Linked DNA regions of Homo sapiens: regions 1, 2 and 4 are each linked to region 3. Evidence: promoter capture Hi-C in human tissues and cell types (Jung and others, 2019). All regions are on one chromosome and are shown on one strand. Each heading gives the region's core, a stretch centred on a gene start or on the middle of the fragment in contact. The rest is flanking DNA. Distances are from core to core; before and after follow the strand shown.

Region 1 (3,793 bases), core at 1,093-3,592, 210 kb after region 3:
TTTACCCAGGACTCTGAAGGTAATCAAGTTATCAGACACCAATTCTAAATGTTTGAAGCTTTGTTTCTAAAAGTACCTTGAAATGATAGAGATGTAGGAAAATATAGTTGTGGGTGGAGAGAGGAGTGAGTTTGTTTAGGTGGGAAGGTGGCATGGGATGAAGTTGTCATTACTGAGCATCTTCTCTGTGTAAATAAAGGGCAGTACCATTGTTAAGACAGTGGGATTGGCATCATGGCTTTCCCTCAGGAAGGTGGTGGCTGGTAAATTCCCTGAATGAGTCTATGATGAACACTGAGGCAGCACAGTGGGTATTTATCTCTATGAAAGTGCCTTTTACTCAGCCTGCACAGAGCCATCTCTTTGCCCTTCCAGATGTCTGACTGGGACCTTGCTTATGGATGTGTTTTTTTTTTTTTTTTTTTGAGATGGAGTCTCGCTCTGTTGCCAGGCTGGAGTGCAGTGGTGCGACCTCAGCTCACTGCACCCTCTGTCTCCCGGATTCAAGCGATTCTCCTGCCTCAGCCTCCCGAATAGCAGGGACTACAGGCATGCGCCACCACGCCCAGCTAATTTTTTTTGGATTTTTAGTAGAGACGAGGTTTCACCATATTAGCCAGGATGGTCTCCATCTCCTGACCTCCTGATCCGCCCACCTCAGCCTCCCAAAGTGCTGAGATTACAGGCATAAGCCACCGCGCCCAGCCAGATGTGTGAGCTTTTAATCTCTGGCTGATCTTAACCCACATCAGCCTAAGCTTGGGATGATTACTCTTGACCCTTTTTTTTCAGTGATTAGCAAATCTCCCCACAACCCAGGTGTGGAGAGAAGAGAGGTAGAATGGTGCTAGTTTCCTATTTTATTTTTGTGGTAACTGTACAGCACTTTAAAGTTATATACTCTATGTTTAAATATCTCCCTTAAAAAGCCTGAGCTGTACAACAATCTGGATGTGACTCTGTTACCCTTTTCCCACAAGATAGGAGGGAATCCCCTTTGTAAAACTATGAATCCAAATAAATGTTTACAAAGTGGCTCTTGTGATAATTGGTAATTAAACCATTACCAATTTTATTTTTGAAAAGGCAACACTGTAATAGTATATGCTGTCATTGCCCTGAGCCTGATCTGAACCAGAGTCTAGTTTGACCTGTCTTCTACCCAAGGCATTATTCCTTGTTGTTGATGTGGTATCTAAGAGGCTTAAACAACCTCTAAGGGACAAACTTGCAAGGTTATAAGAGAACTGCTTCTTTTTTTTTTTTTAACTTAAATTTTATTTTTTTGAGACACGGTCTCGCTCTCTTGCCCAGGCTGGAGTGTGGTGGCATGAACACGGTTCACTGCAGCCTGGACCTCCTGGGCGCAAGTGATTCTCCCACCTCAGCCTCCCGAGTAGCTGAACTATAGGCACATGCCACCATGCCCAGCTAATTATTTTTAAAATATTTTGTAGAGATGAGGTCTTGCTTTGTTGCCCAGGCTGATCTTGAACTCCCAAAGTGCTGTGATTAGAGGTGTGAGCCACTGTGCCTGGCCTAATTTAAATGTTAAATTCTACTTTTATCGTGTATGTCATCTCTCCAGTCATTTTCCTGGAAGACCTGCTTTTAAGAATGTATGGGGCTTAGTGCGGTGGCTCATGTCTGTAATCTCAACGCTCTGGGAGGCTGAGGTGGGAGGTTTGCTTGAGACCAGGAGTTTAAGACCAGCCTGGGCAACATAGCAAGACCCCATCGCTACAAAAAAATTTAAAAATTTCCTGGGTGTGGTGGTGCATACCTGTAGTCCCAGCTACTCAGGAGGCTAAGGTGGGAGGCTCACTTGAGCCCAGGAGTTTGGAGGCTGCAGTTAGCTAATGATCCCACCACTGCACTCCGGCATGACAGAGCTAGATACTGTTTCTAAAAAAAAGAAAAAGAGTATAGGGCAAAATCTCTACAGAAAGGGGGAAGAAACCCCCTAGAAGGGCAGGACCTTATAAGGAAAGAGGAGAAGCCAGTAGCCTGTTTAAGTTCATACACCTTAAAATTAACAATAATCCTATGCCCCTGAAGGATACTGGGTAATCGCAACTCAAGAGATGGACACAGCAAATGCATTCTCTCTCCAAGTCCTTCCTTTAATGTCAGGTAGTGCTTCAACCCAAACACAAGCAGTATACATACCATAGAGAAAGGGACCTGAGGGCATCTGAGTCATGCATGGTGTGGTACATACAAACCTTGGCCCAGCCCAAAGGAGCAGTCAAGGGCCTGGAAGAAAGATGGTTTGCTCTTTCCCCCTCCTCCTCTCTCTTTCCTACCGGGCTTAAAGTCCGTGGAAGAGAAAGTTTTTAATCAGTGGAACTGATAAGGCCTCAGGGCCGTGGAGGGTAGATTTGGTTGTTCAGTAATATAAAATGTGTTTAAGAAAAAAAACAGCCCAGGCTTCCCAGCAGTAGCCCATGTGTTGGCTGGTTCAGCAGCCTGACCTCTACATCTAGACAAGGAAGTGAGGAGGGTGATTGCTGGGCATTGGTGTAGGTTTATGACGGAGCAGCATAAGATTTTCCGTGCCCTGTGAACATGTATACAAACATTCATAGCCCCTTCCCCTCAGCCCTGCTCTGCTGCAAGGAAGCTGCTGAGTGAGTGACAGCTGGGCACAAAGTGTCTTGTGAGACCAGCTATAGGGTCTAATGCAGTGAAGTCAGTCATTTAGGACCTATTTTCACACAGGGGCAAGGAAAAACCAGAAACAACTTCTCTCTTACCCTTTAAACTAAGATACTTCATTCTACACGATTACCTGAAACAAATGTCTCAGGTCAAATCACAAGCCTTAGCTTCTGCTAGGGTTTGAAGTCTGGGAAATATATAATCCAGCTCTTCTCTTTCAGTCCAAGCTCTAGCTTGTCAGCAAGACTGTTGCAGAAGATCTATCCTTAAGAGGCAGAAACATCTGCGGTGAGGAAGGCAGCTATTGAAGGTATTCCAGGAGCATGAGACTGAGTTTGCAGAGCTGAGGGTTGTCAATTTCCTTTTCTACTGATATCTTCTTCCTTTAGAGCAAACTTCCTCCTTAGGACCTCAGAGATAAGCACAGCAGGGTCTTCCTCCTTCAATAAACTCCGGTTCCTAGAGACACAATAATAGCTTGAGTACTTACTCTTTCCTGTGTAGTGCTGTATATCTTTTGAATACATTATCTCGTTGAATCCTCACAACAATCTTACGAGGTAGGTGCCATTACAATTCCCTTTCACAGATAAGGAAATTGAAGCACAGAAAGGTTATACAAGTTGCCCAAGGTCACTAGTCACTCAGCAAGTAAGCGGTGAATCCAGAGTTCAGAACCAAACTAGCTGGTTCCAGATCTCATCTATTAACTAGAATGCTTTACTATTTCCTGAAATAGCTATAAAGTATGGGCAAAGTAAAGGACCATCAGTCTGTTAGAGTTGGCCTCTGGTGGCTAAGCTTCTGCCTTCTGGCCCTGTTTTCTTAGTAGCATTTCCCCAGAGGGTCAGCAGGGGAAGTGACTGATGACTCTTGGCTATTCTGACCCTTGATAGTTCTGGAGAAAAGGTGTGCTTGGGATTTCCTACCACCGGGTCTCCCCTTCAGGGGAGATGATTTTTTATGAGAGCCAGAATTAGAGCAAAACATTCACATAAGAAACTCATGGGAACAAAACCAACTCCAGACTGAAGTAGGCCCAAGTTATCTGATACATCATATAAGAGGGTCCTAGATACCTGGAAAATAGTTGCTTGAAATCCTAGTGAACTTATATACATTCATCATGAAG
Region 2 (3,956 bases), core at 1,241-3,740, 140 kb before region 3:
TCTCCTCCCTTTCTTTCTTTTTTTTTTTAATGTGACATCTCAGCTCACTGCAAACTCCGCCTCCTGGGTTCAAGCGATTCTCCTACGTCAGCCTCCCAAGTAGCTGGGATTATAGGCGTGCGCACCATGCCTGGCTAATTTTGTATTTTTGTAGAGATGGGGTTTCACCACGTTGGTCAGGCTGGTCTCGAACCCTTGACCTCAAGTGATCTGCCTGTCTTGACCTCTCAAAGTGTCCTCCCCAAAAGTGCGCTTTACCCCAAAGTGCAACAGACTCAGTGCCTTAGGGCCCACTGTCACATATGGCCACTGGAGACAATAGGACATCCACACCATTATTCAAAAAAGCATTCTAAATAGTCCTCAGCCCAGCATGGTGGCTCACACCTATAATCTCAGCACTTTGGGAGGCCAAGGCTGGAGGATTGCTTGAGCCCAGGAGTTCCAGACCAGCCTGGGCGACAGAGCGAGAACCTGTCTCTACAAAAAAAATTTTTTTTTTGAGATAGAGTCTCGCTCTGTCGCCCAGGCTGGAGTGCAGTGGCACAAACTCGGCTCACCGCAACCTCCGCCTCCCTGCTTCAAGCGATTATCCTGCCTCAGCCTCTCAAGTGGCTGGGATTATAGGCGCCCACCACCATGCCTGGCTAATTTTTGTATTTTTAATAGAGACGGGGTTTCACCATGTTGGCCAGGCTGGTCTTGAACTCCTGACCTCAGGTGATCCACCCACTTTGGCCTGCCAAAGTGTTGGGATTACAGGCATGAACCACTGCGCCTGGCTCAAAAACATTTTTTTAATTAGGCATGGTAGCTCGTGCCTGTAGTCCTAGCTACTTGGGAGGCTGAGGCAGGAGGATCACTTGAGTCCAGGAGTTCAAGGCTGCATTGAGCCAAGATGGCGCCACTGCACACCAGCCTGGGTGACAGAGTGAGACCTTGTCTCTAAAAAAAAAAAAAAAGAAATTAAAACATCAAGGATAAGTCACACTAAACTTCAAGTTGGACACAGAGAAGTCTCTCACATGCTGTTTCTTTTCCCCAAAAAGTCTCCCCCACCTCTCTTTGCCTGGCCAACTCCTACGTGCTCTTTTTTTCTGTTTCTTTGTTGTGGTGACTGAGATCACATCCTACTTCTTTACTCTCAGCTCCAGTGTCACTTTCTCCAGGAAGCCAGCTCTGACCCCTGAGATTAGGTTCGAGTGCCTTCGTTGAGCCTCCATGTACTCTGGGTGCTACTTGAGCACTTGTAATGACAGTTTCTGTGTGTCTGAGACAGGACCCAGTTGTGCTTATTATCCCTGGGACCCTGGCAGTCTGCACAGTCAGTGCCTGGCACTGAGTGATTCTCCCTTAGTGACTGCTGGTTAGAATTGGATACCCCTTCTCCACAAGGCACCCATTTGCCTCCCTCTGCTCACACCATTCTTCTCCTGTCCCTCCTGTACAAATCCAATGCATTCCTCAAAGCCAGGCTGCAGAGCCCTCTCCATCATGAAGTCTTCCTTGATCTCCAGATTCCTAGAAGGTCAGAGCTGACAGACCCTTGAAGAGCATCCAATCCAACCATCATAGACAGATGAGGAGCCTGAGGCCGGAAGAGTTCTTGCCCCAGGCCCCCCATTAGGGTTAGTGGGGCAGAGGTCATGCTGGCATCCCACCTGGTCCAGGTAGGAGTTGGTACGGAGAGCGATGGTGATGGCATTGATCACCAGCAGCAGGGCCAGCAGCAGTTGGAAGGCGGGGTGTCGGAGCAGCTGCTTGATGTACATGTGAGTGATGAACTCCTGCATGTCCCAGGCGTCCTGGAAGAGGGCAGGACCTTCCTTCAGGCAGGTGTCACCATAGGAAGCCTCTGCCTGGGGGTTTGCTCTTAGAGAATGGGGGTTCCTGGGGCCCACTCTAGAGGGGGGAAATCATCTGAGAGTGGATCATGGAATGGAGACATCAGTGTAGAGATCACTATCTAAATGGCCACTAAAAGTGGGTTACTATCGGGGGATTTTGTGGAAGTCATTGCCAGAGAATCTCTTTGGGCTCTCTGATAGTGAAGATGATCGTTATATAAGGGTTCCTATGGGGGGCATTGCCAGAGAGTTACTAACATATCATGGGCAGTCACTCAGGGATCAGTGCTAGGGAGGGTCTTCTGGGGGCGTTTAGAGGGTAGAGGGGCAGAGTTACCATGAGGGCCTGCTGCCCATGAGCACAGCTGCAGAAGGGGCCACTGTGGGGCGAGAGCTATCCTTACCGCTTTGTTCGTGATTTCCTGGCGGTTGATGAGCACTTGCTCCTCTGGCCGACCGTAGGACTCGTGAATGGTACTCTGCAGGGGAGAGGGGCGGCCCCTCAGTGCAGCTACTGCCCCTCCAAACCCCATACGGTCCTCCTGAGTCCCGCCCCACCCCTCGAGGCCTGTATGGGAGGTCCATTGCTGCCACCAGGCCTTTTCATTATCCCTCATGTTTGCTCAGTCTCTTCCTTCTCCTCAAAGAATCTTCACTCCAAGTGGTCTCACTCCCCCTCGTGGTGATATCACAGAGGCCTCTGTGACCTCCAGCCGTCTGCATTCTACTGAGGAATTCCAACCTGGAGAGAAGCTCCTCCCATTGGCCCTCCTCCGCATCCCACAGAGGAAGTCTGGGGATGCTGTGGGGATGCTGGGCTGGGGTTGGAAGTCAGAGGCTGATGGGAGCAGGTCAGATTTCCCGTGCAGCCTGAATGGAGTCACAGGGACATGTCCCTGCCTTGGATCCAGGAGGTGGAGGTGAGGCTGGAATGAGGAGTGAAGGAGAGAAGTGTTTTCCCCAGGGCCTTCCCAGGGCAGACCTCAACCTGCACCCTTCCCCACCAGCTGCCCTGTCCTACCAGCCCAGTCTCCAGGACTGTCCCCACCACCTTTCCGTGCAAAGTGCATTTCCCCATCTACAAAGTGGAAGTTTCTCATTGTGTGCCCCCCGGGAATGGGGTAGGAGATCACCATTAGCCTTCAAAGAGCTGGGGAGAGGTGGACATGAGTCGGAGCCCTCATTAGCCATGGGTCATCCCCCACCATCCTGGCAGGCTTGGAGCTCGGGTACAGAGCCCAGGCCAACGGGCTGCACGAAGGGTCTGCCACCCACCCTCTGGCCAAGAGCACTCACCCCAGTCCCCACAGGGGGGCAGATTTCCAATTCGAATATGGAAGTAAAGTTACATGTAGACTCATTCTTAGAAAAATTGACTTTATTTGGTTGGAAAGTAGCCCTCATGTAAAATAAAGAACACCTGTACAGACCTGGTTTGGGGGAGAACTGCCAAGGAACTGGAGGGGCAGGGCTGTGGCCCCAGAGGTTGGAGGATTTGGGGGGAGAGTTTCTTCTTTGGCAAGGGAGAGGGTGGCACAAAGCCCAGGCAGAGGGGTCAGCTCGGGGTGAGACCATGACTAGCAGTACTACTTCCCACCCTGAACAGAATCCAGGGATGCTCTGTCCTGGACACGTCAGAAGCTGGGGTTGAGGTGGCCCTCGGGTCAAAGGTCAGGAGCTAGAGTGCTGGCCAGGGTCAGAGGTCAGGAGGTCGGAGGCTGCTCTCTGAGGTCAGGGGGCAGAGATGGGAGTGCTCTTCAGGGTCAGAGGGCAGGGAGTGGGGGGACTGTTCTGTGGAGTCAGAGGTCAAGATGTGGGAGCTGCCTTCAGCCTGTGCCACTCCCCAGGCCCCCAGGCCCTCTGAGTACAGCTCCCGGTTCTGCTCCTTCCACTGGCGGAACTTCTCTCCTGTCAGCTCAGGGTCACCCAGCACTTCTTCTAGGACCTGCAGCTCCTGCAGCTTTGCCTGTGTGGAGAGGAGGGGCTAAGGGACCATGATCACCCAGGGAAGTGGGCAGAGCCCGAGGCCAGACTTCACTCCGGAGGTCCGGTGCCTGGAAGCCAGCACCTGGCCAGCGTGGCACGAGGAGCCTAGGTGAGACTCAAATC
Region 3 (3,733 bases), core at 32-2,531:
GCTGGTGCTCAGAGTAGACAGACCTGGAGAAAACCAGGGTGTCTGAGGTTTTCCAGAAGAAAACCAGAGTCCAGAGAAGCAGAGAGGCACTCAGTGAGGACCCAAGCAGAGCGGGTGCACCTCACATCCTCACTCCTGGCACCCCGTCTCCTACAAGATGAGAGACTGAAAGAGCCCCTTCCTGTCCCCAGTGGTGTGGGCAAGAGGCCTGCACCTCTGACTCTTGGCTCTGTGAAAGGCCATACCCACCAAGCCTATGGTCCTAGCGACAAAGGGTGCTGGGGAGACGAATTGACCAGACAGGGAGGTCTCCAGCAGCTTCTTTCTACACAGAGGGCACCTGTCAGAGGCCAGCGTGGGGGCCACAGGCTCCCCAATCCCCAAGAACCGCCAGGGAAGGAGGCTGCTTCAAGTGGGTGGGGCACCAAGCTGGCCAGGAAGGACAGGGCTTCTCCCAGCGGTACCAACACGGTGGCACCTCCGGCCTGCATCTCCCAGGCTTGCTTGTCAGGCTTCCTGGGGCTCCCAGGAGCCGCTGCGGGGGAGGGGAGAAGGGGTGGCAGCAGTGGCAGTGGTCGTCTCTGCTCCGATGGTGACTGCCGATGACACTGTTCTCTGTGCGGGTGGAGACAAAGCCGGCCACTCCAGATTCTCCTGCGCGCAGGAGAGGAGGAGCTGGCGCTGCTTCAGTGGCGAGGATGGGTCGATCAGTCCCAGCCGGTCCTAGGGAGAGACACTGCCCCAGCCTGAGGGCGGCGCAGCCCACCCCACCCCAGGACCCTCCTAGCAGGAGGACAGGAACGCAAGCCGACCTCGGGGGGTCTCCGGCCTGAGAGGGGAACATGATCAAGCCCAGGGCAGCCGCCAGTCGGAGGGGGCAGACGCGGCCCCAGTAGCCTCTGGAGACCCTCTTCCGAGGCAAGGAGCCACATTCCTGCCGTCGGGACCACCAAAGCGGATTTCTACAAACTAAAGTCGAGAACTTTTCGGCGGCGAGGCGGCGCACCCCGCGCGGGAGAGGGGGCGCAGGCGTCACCCCGTCCTCACTCAGCAACACCCGGCGCCGCGCCGGGCGAAGGCTGGCAAACTTCTCGCGGCCGGCAGGTGGGCTCCGCGGGCCCCATGGGCGCAGGCACAGGTGTGCGGGGCCACAGCCGGGCCTTTTGCAGCCGGCGACCGCCCCCCCTTCCCCGCGGGCTTTTGCACACGACGCGCCGACGGCAGCTTCACACGGGTTGGCGAGGGCCGGATAAAGCCGGCGGCCGCGGGGCGCAGCGGCTGACCCGAGACACGGGAGCGCTTGGCACGCGGAGCCAGAGCCGGAGCTGCAGCCGCAGCGGGAGCCGGGGGAGCTCAGGGGCCGCAGGAGCCGGGCCGGAGTGAGCGCACCTCGCGGGGCCCTCGGGGCAGGTGGGTGAGCGCCACCCGGAGTCCCGCGCGCAACTTTCAGGGCGCACTCGGCGGGGCGGCTGCGCGGCTGCCGGGACTCGGCGCGGGACTGCATGGAGGCCAAGGAGAAGCAGCATCTGTTGGACGCCAGGCCGGCAATCCGGTAAGGCGAGAGCCTGGGGACGGGCGGGAATTTTGGCGGCAGCCGACGCACCTCCGCATTTGCCATCCTAGCAGTGGTTGGTTTTGGCTGCGGCTTGAGCTGGGACCATGCAGGAGGGGTGGGGTGAGGTGAGGGAACGAAGATAATGGGCTGTGGCCCAAGGACCGTCTCTCCCTTGGGGCGCAGCCCAGATTCTGACCCCTGCCCGCGGGGGGCCTGGGGCCGGGGGATTGGCGGTTCCCATGCCTGGAGTCCCGCCCCGCCCAGCACTTTGCCCCAGGCAGCCCCGCCCCGGGGAGGCCCTGTGTCCCAAGTGCGCTGGAGGGGGCCTGCTGTTCTCCCAGAGCCTGCGCTCTGTTCCTTCCCCGCGCTCCACTGGACAGCACGCCCCTTGGCCGGTTCCCAGGGTCTTCACCTCCTCTGGCCTCTGAAGGGCCCCGGGCCCCAGGACTCCCATTCCCCTATCATCCCCGTCTGAATACAGGCTTCTCACCTCTGGTTTGTCGAGCTCGGAGCGTCCTTAGCTATTTTTCCCAGTGGACACAAGGCCTCACAGAGAAATGGGACTAGAGTCGGCCCTCCTTACCTCATCTCAGAGCTGAGCGTTCCCTCTCTTCCCCTCTGGCCAGGTCATACACGGGATCTCTGTGGCAGGAAGGGGCTGGCTGGATTCCTCTGCCCCGACCTGGCCTGGACTTGCAGGCCATTGAGCTGGCTGCCCAGAGCAACCATCACTGCCATGCTCAGAAGGGTCCTGACAGTCACTGTGACCCCAAGAAGGGGAAGGCCCAGCGCCAGCTGTATGTAGCCTCTGCCATCTGCCTGTTGTTCATGATCGGAGAAGTCGTTGGTAAGCACTTTTGGGCTAATTAAATGAAGTTGGTGCATGGATAGACTGGATGTTCCCAGCAATACTGACACTAAAAGCCCCAATTACTGAACACACACTACAGTAAGCCTTTATATACACATTATCTGATGCAGGTCTAACAACAACCTGTGTTCTCACATGGGTGACGTTATTCTCCTTACTTTACAGATGATGAAACTGAGGCATGTTCAGGTGAAGTAACTTGCCAAAGATCACGCACAACTCGTAGCTAAGGGAAGGCCTGAATTCCTAGAAGGGAAGAGCATTTACTGAGTATCTGCTATGTTTTCCAGTCCCTATTTGAACTTGATGTGCACATTCACCCTCTAAGTAGATATTGGTGGCCCATTTCACAGAGAGTGGAAGTTGAGGCTCAGAGAGAGTAGGTCACTTGTCACGGTGGTACAGCTCATGGGTAGAGAGATCTTGAGCCCAGAATGTCCTCTTCCAGAGCCTGTGGTCTCCCTGCTGCACACACAGTCTTGGGAGCCAGCTCTCTGGGGGAGCTGATAAGGACCCTCCACCCTGCAGGTGGGTACCTGGCACACAGCTTGGCTGTCATGACTGACGCAGCACACCTGCTCACTGACTTTGCCAGCATGCTCATCAGCCTCTTCTCCCTCTGGATGTCCTCCCGGCCAGCCACCAAGACCATGAACTTTGGCTGGCAGAGAGCTGGTGAGGATCGCGGTTTGGCTGGAGATGGGGTTGAGAGAGAGGGTGGGTTAGAACAGGGGTTCTTAGGTGGCTGTAATGGGTGGATCCCCCCTTCCTCCCCTGAGTGAGGCCAGGAGGGTGATCTGGATGGGGGAAGAGGATGTCAACCATGGCCTCTGTCCTCTGGGAAATCCTAGTCTGATGGGGGAGCCCTGGTCCCAGTCATCCAGGAGCTCTCAGTCTGCAGGGAAGCAAAGTTGACCTTCCTAAGAAGTGCAGTAGCCAAGCTTCAAGAACAAATGACAATGGCATTAACACTGCACATAACTCTGTGGATCAGCTCTGGGGGGAGGGGAAGGCCAGCAAAGGCTGCTGGAAGATATAGGCTTTAACCTCTCTTCCGTTCACCCTGGACTGCATCGTCACCTTCCTCTTTGTGGGAGATGGCCCAGCCTGTCTTCCCCAGAAGCCTCAGTTTACTAGCTGAACAAAAGGCACATACTTTAATAAGTCAGCTTCTTTACATGTACAACCAAAAAGGTGGACTCAGATGATGACTTATTAGTTCCTTCTAGCTCTTACATTCCTAGATATATGAGGGGTGGGGTAAGGGGCAGCCATACCGGCCATACCTTCAGCAGAGCCCAGTGGGA
Region 4 (3,728 bases), core at 974-3,473, 210 kb before region 3:
GGATTATAGGCGTGAGCCACCTGGCCTCAAAGATGGTTTTTAAACCCCAGCTCTGCCAATTACCAACTCTATGACCCCGTACAGATTATGTAGTCTAAGAACCTGGTAAGTTTCTACATCTACCTCGTTAGTACACTATGAAGATTAAATAAAATGCTGTATGTGAAAGTACTTAGCCTAGTGACGTATAAATACGTTTTTAGGTTTTCCTTTGTAACCTTTTGCTATTTTGGAGACCCTATCTGGTGCTTAATTTGACTACCAAACAGATTCAATGGCCAACAGCTCACAAGCCTGTATTTCCTGTCTACAAACATCTTCCTTCTTTTTACAGCTATTTTCTTTAAGCCAAAATTCAAAGGACAAAAGCTATTACAATTCTAAGAACTGTACAGAACCTAGAAAATCCAAGGAAAGATAGACCTCTACCTGCATTTGCTCCATCTGTAAACGAATCAATTCCAGCTGCTGCCGACAAGTGCTGAGTTCACAAGATTGCTCTCGGGGATGCCAAGTGTCAGGACTCGGCTGCCACACCTGAGAGGGCAGAGGCTTGGAGAGCCCGGGAGCAGGCTGGAGTCCCAAAGGGAGGACCCCACTGCTATTAGAATGTGGTCCATTCCGCTCAAACACTGCCCCGCTGCCCGGTGCCTTCTTGGCCTCAGGCAACACTCTGTACAACTCCTTACTTGTGCTGGTTCTTGGGTTGTGGAAGCGGACTCGGTGGTGAGGATCTGAATAAAGTGTCTCCATCATTGCCGACTGATTGAGGGTAGATTCCATGCTAGGAATATCAAACTTCCTCGCCTCTTCTTGTCTTTCATGGCCCACTGCTGGAAACCAGGACTGCTCAATTCCATTTTCTCCAGTAGCACCAGAGAAATACATGAGATCTCTAGATAGGCCTGGAGAATGTTTCATTGCACCGAGGTCTCCATTTCTTGTCATTCCCACACTTTCAGCCAACCCTGACAAAGGGAGTTTAGAGGAAGAGGGTCCAACAGGTGTAGAATTTGGCTTGGCAGGAGAGGTCCCTAAAGTAGAAGGCATCACATGGGCTGTTGGAATGGTTACGTGGCTTTTGATGGGCTGGAAAGGAGGACTGCCACTTGAGCTGCAAAAATCTGGGGAGAGAATAGTCTTCCATAAGTAAAAATTGAAGTAGCAAGCTTTCTTGAGTTTGAATGCTATGCCAGAAGCTCTCGGCCTGTCCTGAGACCAAGCAGAGAGAGCACCATCATCAAAAGTATCAGGCAGAAAGAAACGGCAACCAAACTGGGAGATGTATGTTCCAGGATCTCAAATGCCATTCACAAGGTAAACTAACAAAAGGCAATAATGACTTCACTTTTAACTTAGTCCTTTGTACTGGAATAAAAAAAATCTTGTCAGTCAACAGACAAAGCTGAAAAACTTTTAAAAAGTTTTTTAAAAAATTTAAACTTTAAAACAAATTACTTACTTAAGGAAAATGAGTTAGGTCCTACTCTTCTGGAAGCTGGACAACTCTCAGCTATAATCAAATCTAATAAAAATATCCTTTCCAAGAGTCACCAGAATCTTCTGCGACCTCCAAAAGCTCCCCCAGGAAGGTGAGCAACGAGTCCAAACTATCTGAAGAATGAAGCGAACTAGACAGTCTTGCTCAGTATGCAGGACAGGGAGTATGGCATCTGAGGCAGGATTCTGTTCTCTCTCCCATACCCCAAACCTGACTGCCTGGATATGTGAAGTTATTCTTAGTAACTCTCAGGTTTCACTCTAGCACAGTGAGCACTCTCAATTGGGTACACACTGAAATCCTCTATTTTATATTTTGCCTTTCACTTGCCCCCTTGTGTGTACCCAACTGTGTTTTTTTTTTTTTAACTTTTCCTTCAGACTGAATTTGTGTTTCCTTTGGCTCCTGCCTGGTCTTGGGAGACAACCCTTGATTAGCCCTACTATACAAGGTTCACATTTCTACCTATTTCCAACTTTCAAGTACTACTCTGAGGGGGACTACTGCAAGCAAACAATAAGGGAGGAATGTGAGGTAACATACTTATTGCTTTCAGCAGGCAGAAAACTGAATAAGGAAATAAGGAATACCAATTTCTTCTCTTTTCAACTATATTCAGTACTCGTTCCCAAATCAAGCATATCTACCACGGAGAAGAGCGACTACCAACTTGTTTCTTTTTCTCCCCAGCAACCAACACAGAGAACACTCAGATAACAACAACAAATACTATAATTGTTCCCAGAATTATGTAAGTATAGATCAGCTACGACCTTCTCATTAAACAACTTTTTTTTTTGAAATGGGGTCTCACTCTGTCACCCAGGCTGGAGCACAGTGGCGTGATCACAGTTCACTGCAGCCTCGACCTCCCCAGGCTCAGGTGATCTTCCCACCTCAGTTTTTGTATTTTTAGGAGAGATGGGGTTTCGCCATGTTGCCCAGACTGGTCTCGAACTCATGGGCTCAAGTGATCCACCTGCCTCAGCCTCCCAAAGTGCTAGGATTACAGGTGTGAGCCACCATGCCCGGCCTTAAGCAACTCTTTAAAAATATGGGCAAGCCACCTCACACCTGTCAGAATGGCTATGATGAAAAAGATGAGGCCGGGCGCAGTGGCTCATGCCTGTAATCCCCAGCACTTTGGGAGGCTGAGGAGGGGGGATCATGAGGTCAGGAGATCGAAACCATCCTGGCTAACACGGTGAAACCCTGTCTCTACTAAAAATACAAAATATTAGCCAGGTATGGTGGCACGCGCCTGTAGTCCCAGCTATTCGGGAGGCTGAGGCAGGAGGATCGCTTGAACCCAGGAGGTGGAGGTTGCAATGAGCCAGGATCGCACTACTGCACTCCAGCCTGGGCGACAGAGTGAGACTCCATCTCAAAAAAAAAAAAAAAAAGATGAAAGATAACAAGTTTGGAGAGGATGCAGAGAAAAGGGAACTCTAGTACACAGTTGGGGGGAATGTAACACAGCCACTGTGGAAAACAATGGAGTATGTAGCTCCTCAAAAAACTAAAAATAGTTACCATATGATCCAGCAATCCACTTCTGGGTATATATCCAAACGATATGAAATATGTATGTCCAAGAGATATCTACAATCCCATGTTTACTGAGTAATTATTCACAATAGCCAAGTTATAGAATCAACAGACGAACAGATAAGGAAAATGCAGTATATTACACAACGGAATACCAGCCTTATAAAAGATGTCAATTGTGTCACTTGCAACAACATGGATGAAACTGGAGGACACTAAGAGAAATAAGCCAGGCACAAAATGACAAATACTGCACGTTCTTACTTATATGTGGAAGCTAAAAAAAACCTCGACACATAGAAACAGAGAGAATAATTGTGGTTACCAGAAGCTGGGAGCAGGGGGAATCGAGAGATGCTGATCAAAGGGTAAAACATTTCGGTTAGACAGGAGGAATAAATACTTTAAAAAAAGACGTGCAAGCCTTATATTACATGCATAGTATCTAATTTGCTATACTGAAGATGATCTTGGGGATATATAAAAGGCCACACTAAAAAAACACACACACACGTAACAAAACAAAAACCTGAATAAGTTCTGATAACATGCATTAGTCTCTCAGGACCAAGAAAGAAATTTCTCAGTTAAAGGACCCAGTTTCTGATGTCTCACAACTTAAATATAGGACTAGTACACAAGGTTAAGGCAGACTGCTAGTGATAAAGACTTCAAAGAC

What was found. Contacts are between HindIII fragments. The study calls those that stand out against the background at their distance.
Region 1: a contact is called between a fragment that was not itself captured here and the fragment with the promoter of SLC30A2 in region 3, in 1 of the 25 tissues and cell types used here (dorsolateral prefrontal cortex).
Region 2: the fragment with the promoter of CATSPER4 here is called in contact with the fragment with the promoter of SLC30A2 in region 3 in 1 of the 25 tissues and cell types used here (adrenal gland).
Region 4: a contact is called between a fragment that was not itself captured here and the fragment with the promoter of SLC30A2 in region 3, in 4 of the 25 tissues and cell types used here (dorsolateral prefrontal cortex, mesenchymal stem cells, psoas muscle and 1 more).

The regions. Positions count from the first base shown.
Region 1 is chr1:25,831,248-25,835,040 of GRCh38, reverse strand. It overlaps MTFR1L (mitochondrial fission regulator 1 like), which reads right to left. Exons shown (of 7, transcript NM_001099625.2): 7 at 2,103-3,120. The coding sequence ends at 3,015. It overlaps AUNIP (aurora kinase A and ninein interacting protein), which reads left to right. Exons shown (of 3, transcript NM_024037.3): 3 at 1-1,035. The coding sequence ends at 48. Among named protein-coding and RNA genes, the nearest start is that of MTFR1L, 13 kb to the right of the region's middle. The HindIII fragment of the contact is 3,867 bases long and covers 409-3,793 here.
Region 2 is chr1:26,189,136-26,193,091 of GRCh38, reverse strand. It overlaps CATSPER4 (cation channel sperm associated 4), which reads right to left and starts at 2,490. Exons shown (of 10, transcript NM_198137.2): 1 at 2,252-2,490; 2 at 1,662-1,805. The coding sequence starts at 2,464. It overlaps CNKSR1 (connector enhancer of kinase suppressor of Ras 1), which reads right to left. Exons shown (of 21, transcript NM_006314.3): 21 at 3,208-3,813. The coding sequence ends at 3,544. RefSeq lists an enhancer at 1,787-2,604. The HindIII fragment of the contact is 15,004 bases long and covers 1-3,956 here.
Region 3 is chr1:26,043,666-26,047,398 of GRCh38, reverse strand. SLC30A2 (solute carrier family 30 member 2) reads left to right here and starts at 1,281. Exons shown (of 8, transcript NM_001004434.3): 1 at 1,281-1,552; 2 at 2,182-2,402; 3 at 2,955-3,101. The coding sequence starts at 1,503. RefSeq lists an enhancer at 1,682-2,250. The HindIII fragment of the contact is 12,838 bases long and covers 1-3,733 here.
Region 4 is chr1:26,252,567-26,256,294 of GRCh38, reverse strand. It overlaps CEP85 (centrosomal protein 85), which reads right to left. Exons shown (of 14, transcript NM_001319944.2): 4 at 430-1,124. Among named protein-coding and RNA genes, the nearest start is that of CEP85, 20 kb to the right of the region's middle. The HindIII fragment of the contact is 5,989 bases long and covers 1-3,728 here.